2 separate regions of the Homo sapiens genome follow, and region 2 is linked to region 1. The links are contacts of gene promoters, found by promoter capture Hi-C in human tissues and cell types (Jung and others, 2019). All regions are on one chromosome and are shown on one strand. The core of a region is centred on a gene start or on the middle of the fragment in contact, and the rest is flanking DNA. Distances in the headings are between cores, read along the strand shown. Region 1 holds the start of BCL11B (BCL11 transcription factor B). Region 2 overlaps LOC105370655 (a long non-coding RNA gene).

Region 1 (3,401 bases), core at 288-2,787:
TGTTGGTGCCATCGCCCCACCCAAGACCTTCGGGACGAAAACAAAAACCCCCGTGTGCCCCCCGAGGAAAAGGCCCCGAGGGAGGCGGCGCTGAGGCGTCACGGCCTCGCCATGCGCCCGGGTGAAGCCGCCGGAGCCAGGCCTGGGGGCGGAGTGGGGTGGGTGCAGCTGGACTCGCCCGCGAAGCCTAGCCGGAGCCAGGCCCCGACCCGCCCTGGCCGCCTCCAGAGAAACCCTGAGAAGGGAGAGGAGGCCAGCCGCGTGGCGCGCCCAGCCCTGGAGGCCAGGTCATCAAATTGACAAAGTTGGCCACAGCCTGGGGAATGGGGGGTGTCCACGGGGGCCGTGGTCTGGCCTTGTCCCCGGGCCACGGAGAGGCCCCACAACTCCTCTTGTCCTCGCCGGTTGGAGATCAAACGGCTGACAAGGCAGCTGCGTCCTTCCCAGTCTGACAGGCATTTCCAAGTCCTACCCTGGGCCGAGGAGCGCGGGGGGCGGGGTGTGACTTCCAGGTTGCTGTGATTGTCAGGGGCGCCTCCTGGAGTCACCCACCCGAGTATCTGCGGAGATTTGGCCACACCTACTCCTGGGCTGGCAAGTCCAAGTCCCTCTCCCACGTGGAGCGCCCCGGTCCCTTTACCCTCTCGCTTGCCATAGACCCAGTTTAGGAGGTGGGGTCGTGTTTGACCCCAGGAGTTAATCGGGGTAAGGTGAGGGGAGGGGACAAAGATTTGAGTGAAAATCCTTTTCCAAGTGGGACTCAAACAAGGTCTCAAACACTTCTCACCCCCTCACGTGCTCTTGATTCTGTTGTCTTAGTGTCGTTTATTTTGTCATCCTCACCCTCCCAGAGTCTGTAATACCAGGATTTATATGGAGACACTTTTTGGAAGTTGAACTCCAACATCTACTCCCCTCCCCTCGCCGCCCGCGACCATAAAACAAAAGTAAAAACTACCAAGCGACTTTTCCAGGGAAACGAAGCGATTCTTACTGTCCCCCCAACTCCCATGTCGACCCCAACCCTTTTCCACAGTCCACGCCCCCACCCCCAAAGTCCAAGTCCGAAAGAGCTTTTGGGTGGGTGGAGACTTGCATTGATTCAATTTAGTTCACTCACACAGCACCCCGCCCCCCTTCTCAGGGGGTCCTGCTCCCAGGATGGAGGAGATATAAGGACGATTTTTCTTTTATTTTAAAATAAGCTGCCCAGTGGCCCCCCCCAACCCCCTCCCGCTGTTGCGCAGCCGGGGCTCGGGGGAGATGAGCGCACAAAAACGCGGTTTGCACGTGTGTCCGGCTTGGGCTGCGGGTGTGCGCAACTGGCGACTGTGTGTGTGTGTGTGTGAGTGTGCGCGCGCGCGCGAGTGTGTCTCTGTGTGTGCTTTCTTGTTCTCTTACAGGGTACAATGTTAAAAAGCCACCGCTAGTCGCCCCCAGTGCTCCGACTCTCTGGGTCTTTTTGTCTCTAGTGCAGATTAAACGTCACGTCCGCACTTGAACTTGAATTTTATCCCATTGTACAGAGGCAGCCCCAGCCATAGAGAGACCGAGAGCTCCCAGAGAACCCGGACTCCGCCATCTTCACGTTGCAATCTATAGCTCCCAGTCTGCGCCCGCACCGACCCAGGCGCACTGGGCGAGCCGCCCCTCCGCCCCGCTCCCCCCGGGCCCGCGGCGCCAGGGGAGCGCTGGGGAGCGCTCGCGGGGACTCGGCAGCCCCTCCGGCCGGCGCCAGCCTGCCAGGTGAACTGGGAAGGAGCCTCTCCTGGTGTCCCCCCAGAGCCTCGGAAGGGTCAGTCTCCGAGAAAAAACAAAAACAAAAACAAAAACAGGCAGCCCGCAGAAAACCCAGAAACAACCGAACCGGGGCAGTTTTACATTGCTTTGGGTTTTTTGAGGGGGCGGGGTGAGGGGGTACGAGACAAGTCCCCAAGTTTTCTTTGCTTTTTTTTTTCCTTTGCTTTTTCTTCTTTTATTTTTTTATTTGTTTGCATTTTTTTTCCCCTCCTGGTAGAAGTGCGCTTTCCACCTACCAGACCCTGAAAGAAAGTGTCAGGAGCCGGTGCAAAACCCAGTTTAAGTTCAAGAAGACATTTGCAAGTGCAAGAGGCCAAGCAGTTTGAAGAAGTGTAAGAGATTTTTTTTCCTTCGAAAGAATATATTTTTAAAGAAACCAGCCAGTCCGCGGAAAGCAACAGCAGTTTTTTTTTTTTTTGCCTCTTTTTCTTATTTTAGATCGAGAGGTTTTTCTTGCTTTTCTTCCCTTTTTTTTCTTTTTGCAAACAAAACAAAAAACAGCATAGAAGAAAGAGCAAAATAAAGAAGAAGAAGAGGAGGAAGAGAGGGAAAGAGAGGAAGGGAAAAAAAACACCAACCCGGGCAGAGGAGGAGGTGCGGCGGCGGCGGCGGCGGCGGCAGCGGCGGCAGCGGCGCGGCGGCGGCTCGGACCCCCTCCCCCGGCTCCCCCCATCAGTGCAGCTCTCCGGGCGATGCCAGAATAGATGCCGGGGCAATGTCCCGCCGCAAACAGGGCAACCCGCAGCACTTGTCCCAGAGGGAGCTCATCACCCGTAAGTGTCTGCGGAGTGCGCGCGAGGGGCCGGAGATGGGGCTCCGGGCGTCTGGGGCTGGGGACACCGAGCCCGGAACAGCCGAGCCTGGCCAGGCGCCGGGGCCGCCCGCTGGCTGGCAGAGTCTACGGCGTCGGCCTGGAGCATGGCGGGGGGCGGGGGCCATAGGAAAGTTTCTTTGCAGCCCGGGGAGTTGGGGCGCCGAGCAGCCGGACGCGCCTCGGGCTCGGGGGCCTGCGGAGCCGGCTCCGGGCCGGGGAGGGGGCATGCAGGCTGGAGGAGTGTGTGTGTGTGCGCGCCGAGCCCGGCTGGACGCTCGCCCCTCCGAGCGGCGTGTGTGGCGGCGGCGGCGCTGGTGGCGGGGTTTGGAGAGGAGGGGGAGGGGGCTGGGGGAGCGGAGGGGGAGGGGGAGCCGGGAAGTGGGGAAAAGTTGGCGAGCGCGTGGGTCCGCGCTGACGGCGCGGGCGGAGGAGAGCGGGGTGCGTTCCGGCTGGGGGAGCCGTAGGGCCAGGGGCGGCCGCCGGCTCCGGGTCCCCGGTCCCTGCGCCCGGCCCAGCAGGGTGCCGGCCGCGCCAGTCCTAGGATTCCGCAGCCGCCTTTCTCTCCCCTCCTCCTGCTATTTGCAAAATAATCCAGCTGCGCGGCTGTTTGCCGGGCTCAAGCCCCCCTCCCCACCCCCCACTTCCCCACCTCCGTCTGTCTCCTGGGATGATCTTGTCTTCTTTCCCCCACTTCAAAAAAGGTGGGGGGATTGGGGTTGGTGAAAAATCCCCGCCACGAGGAAAAAAAAAAAGGTTGTCAGTTAGGAGTGGGAAGAGAGTGATGCGC
Region 2 (3,401 bases), core at 665-3,164, 1.2 Mb after region 1:
AAACTATGCATCTGACAAAGTCTAGTATCCAGAATCCATCAGGAACTTAAATCAACAAGAAAAAAAAACAAACAAACGACCCCATTCAATATGGGCAAAGGACATGAACAGACACTTCTCAAAACAAGACATACACACCATATCAACAAGTATAAGAAGAAATGCTCAACATCACTAATCATTGTAGAAATGTAAATCAAAACCACAAAGAGATACCATCTCACATAAGTCAGAATGGGTATTATTAAAAAAACAAAAAAAGTAACAGATGTTGGCGATGTTGAGGAGAAAAAGGAATGCTTATACACTGCAGGCTGGAATGTAAATTAGCTCAGCCACTGTGGAAAGCAGTTTGGAGATTTCTCAAATAACTTAAAACATAACTACTATTTGACCCAGCAGTCCCATTACTGAGTATATACCCAAAGGAATATAAAGCATTCTACCATAAAGACACATTCACATGTAGGCTTATTGCAGCACTTTTCTTAATAGCAATGACATGGAATCAACCTAGATGCACATCAGTGGTGGACTGGATAAAGAAAATGTGGTACTCATATACACACCATGGAATACTGTACAACCATAACAAAGAACAAAATCAAGTGCTTTGCAGCAACATGGAGGCAGCTGGAGGCCATTATTCTAAGCAAATTTATGCAGGAACAGAAAACCAAATACCACATGTTCATACTTATAAGTAGGAGCTAAACATTGAGTGTACATGGACACAAAGAGGGAAACAATAGACACTGGAGCCTACTTGAGGGTGGAGGGTGGGAGGAGGAAGAGGATAGAAGAGGATAGAAAAACTACCTATTGGGTACTATGGTTACTACTTGGGTGACAAAATCATTTGTACACCAAAGCCGAGTGACACACTATTTACCCATGTAACAAACCTGCATGTGTACCCCCTGAACTTAAAATAAATGTTGGGAAAAAATATTTTTATATATTTCTTTTTAATGATAGTTCTACTGAGTATCCAGTTCTTGCTTGAAATTTACCATCTCTCAAAACTTAGAAAATGTTACTCCACCATCTTCTTTTTTCCATTATTTCTTTTGAGAAGTCTAGTGTTAGCTTGGTCATCTTTTCACTCTGGCTGCTTTTAAAATCTTATTTGAAGTTCTTTAGTTTTACAACAGTGCATTGAAGTGTGAAGTTACTTGTTTGCTTTCTTTAATACTGCTTGATATCCATTGCAATTTCTATATTTTTCTACGTTCTGTGTGTCTACATTTTTCTACGTTCTGTATGTCTACATTTTATCACCTTTTTATATTTTCTGTTTGCTTGCCTTTTTTTCCAATATGCTGAGCATTTCTTCTGATTTGCCTTCTTAATCACCAATTTTCAGTTCGTTTCTCAGTTAATGTTTATGCATTTACTAGGTTTTGAATTTCAATAATTTTATTTCTAGAAAGACTATGTAGCTCTCTTCTCTAATCTGCTGTGCCATGTTTGATAAATTGTTTCTAATTTTTTGATTTCGTCTTTTATTTCTTGAGATATTTCACATTACTTATTTTATATCAAATCTATAACTCCATGTGTGTGTGTGAACATACACTTATGCATAAGGACTACATGTGCCGTATGATCTGAGAAAGGAATTTCATTTGCTTTTGCTGAGGGCCAGAGAACCCTGCAGACCTGGTACTATTTTTGGCTCTTTGTAAGGTTGCTGATGTTACATGTAGGTCTGAGGTCAAGCTCCTCCATCTTACCAGGCTCTTGGGCTTGGCTTCCTTAACGTAGACTTGCTCATTGCTCAAGTTCCTTGTTCCAGTCTCAGCTCAGTCATGCTTGTTTCTTTGTTTTTATTTCTTAGAGATTCCCCTTATATTCTATCAATCCCATAAAAGCATTAAAATTATGTTTGCATTGTAATTTTCTAATCATATCAAGAGCTGTTGTATCTTAGCTGAGACATCTTTCTGGTCTCCTTGCCTGCCGTGCTACAGAAACCCACTTGCTGGAGTAATGTTTAGAGAAATATTTTCATCTCTATCATTTAGTGTCCCCTGGACTTCCATGTAATGAAAATAAAAATAGTAATAATAACAGCAACTATATACTGAGAATTGACAAAGTCTCAGAGACCATGCTAACCATTTTACAAAAAGCATCTGTAGTCCTCTCAACATGGCGAAGAAACTACATTTCTGAGAGTAAAAGTGAATAGTACTTATTTGTTACACAACTAGTTGATGATGAAAAATATTAAAAAATAGCTGTTGATGAAGCTGGGATGGAAAGAGGTTTGGCATAATATTCTATACATTTGAGAATATGCTATGAAATATCTCAATTTTTAAAATATAAAATTATATGAACTCTTCATAAAAGTACTTTAGAAATATAGCTGGAAAATAAAGTAATTTACCCCAAGAGAGTGACCTGATCACTCTTTCCCAACAATGAATATTTTATGACTGATCATGTCTTCACTTCACCTGGGACACCAGCAAGCTCTGCAACATATTGGAAGGTCAAATTAGTCAGATATGGCTGCTATTACCTTATTTATATTCCTCCTTTAGTCTTAACATTCTAGTTTTATGGATATTGCATTGTACTATTGCATTATTTTACATTGCAACCATTTTATAAATAAATTAATTTAAAAAATTGAGCCTCCTAGGTACATGACTGCCTTATGTAGAAATGGTCTACATTACTCAGATTTTGTTTTCAGAGCACATGTAAGACTCTAGCAGGTCAAATGTCCACATCACACAATATTTAATTTTCTTTTTGGAGGGAAAATCTCCTTCTAGTTCTTCTAGTATACCAGGTGATGACAACAACAACAACAACAAAATAATAGCAGGAGATGCAATTTTGATAACCTTAGAAACTTTGCAAAAAGCTTTTCTTCAGTTTGTTTTCTATGCACAACAGCTCATCCTGGATTTGTTGGGTTCTGCACATTGTAGAGAGGAGAAAACAGGTGACTTAAGGCTTTCTGGTTTGCCAATACCACAGGAATAATAAATGTCTTTATTGTAAAGAATTGGCTTGTGTGAATATGGAGGCTGAGAAGTCCCACAGTCTGCTGTCTGCAAGCTGTAGACCAAAGGAAGCTGGTGATGTAGTCCTGAGAACCAGAGAGTTGATGGTAGAAGTCCCAGTCAAGGGCAGGAGCAAGTCGATGTCCCAGCTCAAGCAGTCAGGCAAAGAGAGCTAGTTCCCCCTTCTTTTGCCTTTTTGTTCTATTTGGGCCTCCAACAGATTGAACTATGCCCACCCACACTGCAAAGGGCAATCTGCTTAACTGAGTCTATTGATTCAAATGCTAATCTCATAATAATGTTGAATCTGGGCACCCTGTGGTCCAGTCAAGTTGACATATAAAATTATCACAGCTACCAAGTGGGAGAGCCAGGAAG

The links. Contacts are between HindIII fragments. The study calls those that stand out against the background at their distance.
Region 2: a contact is called between a fragment that was not itself captured here and the fragment with the promoter of BCL11B in region 1, in 1 of the 25 tissues and cell types used here (dorsolateral prefrontal cortex).

The regions. Positions count from the first base shown.
Region 1 is chr14:99,270,333-99,273,733 of GRCh38, reverse strand. BCL11B (BCL11 transcription factor B) reads left to right here and starts at 1,537. Exons shown (of 4, transcript NM_138576.4): 1 at 1,537-2,573. The coding sequence starts at 2,516. RefSeq lists a silencer at 1,611-1,690. The HindIII fragment of the contact is 16,916 bases long and covers 1-3,401 here.
Region 2 is chr14:98,082,834-98,086,234 of GRCh38, reverse strand. All of the region lies in intron 1 of LOC105370655 (a long non-coding RNA gene), which reads left to right. Among named protein-coding and RNA genes, the nearest start is that of LINC02295, 51 kb to the left of the region's middle. The HindIII fragment of the contact is 9,177 bases long and covers 1-3,401 here.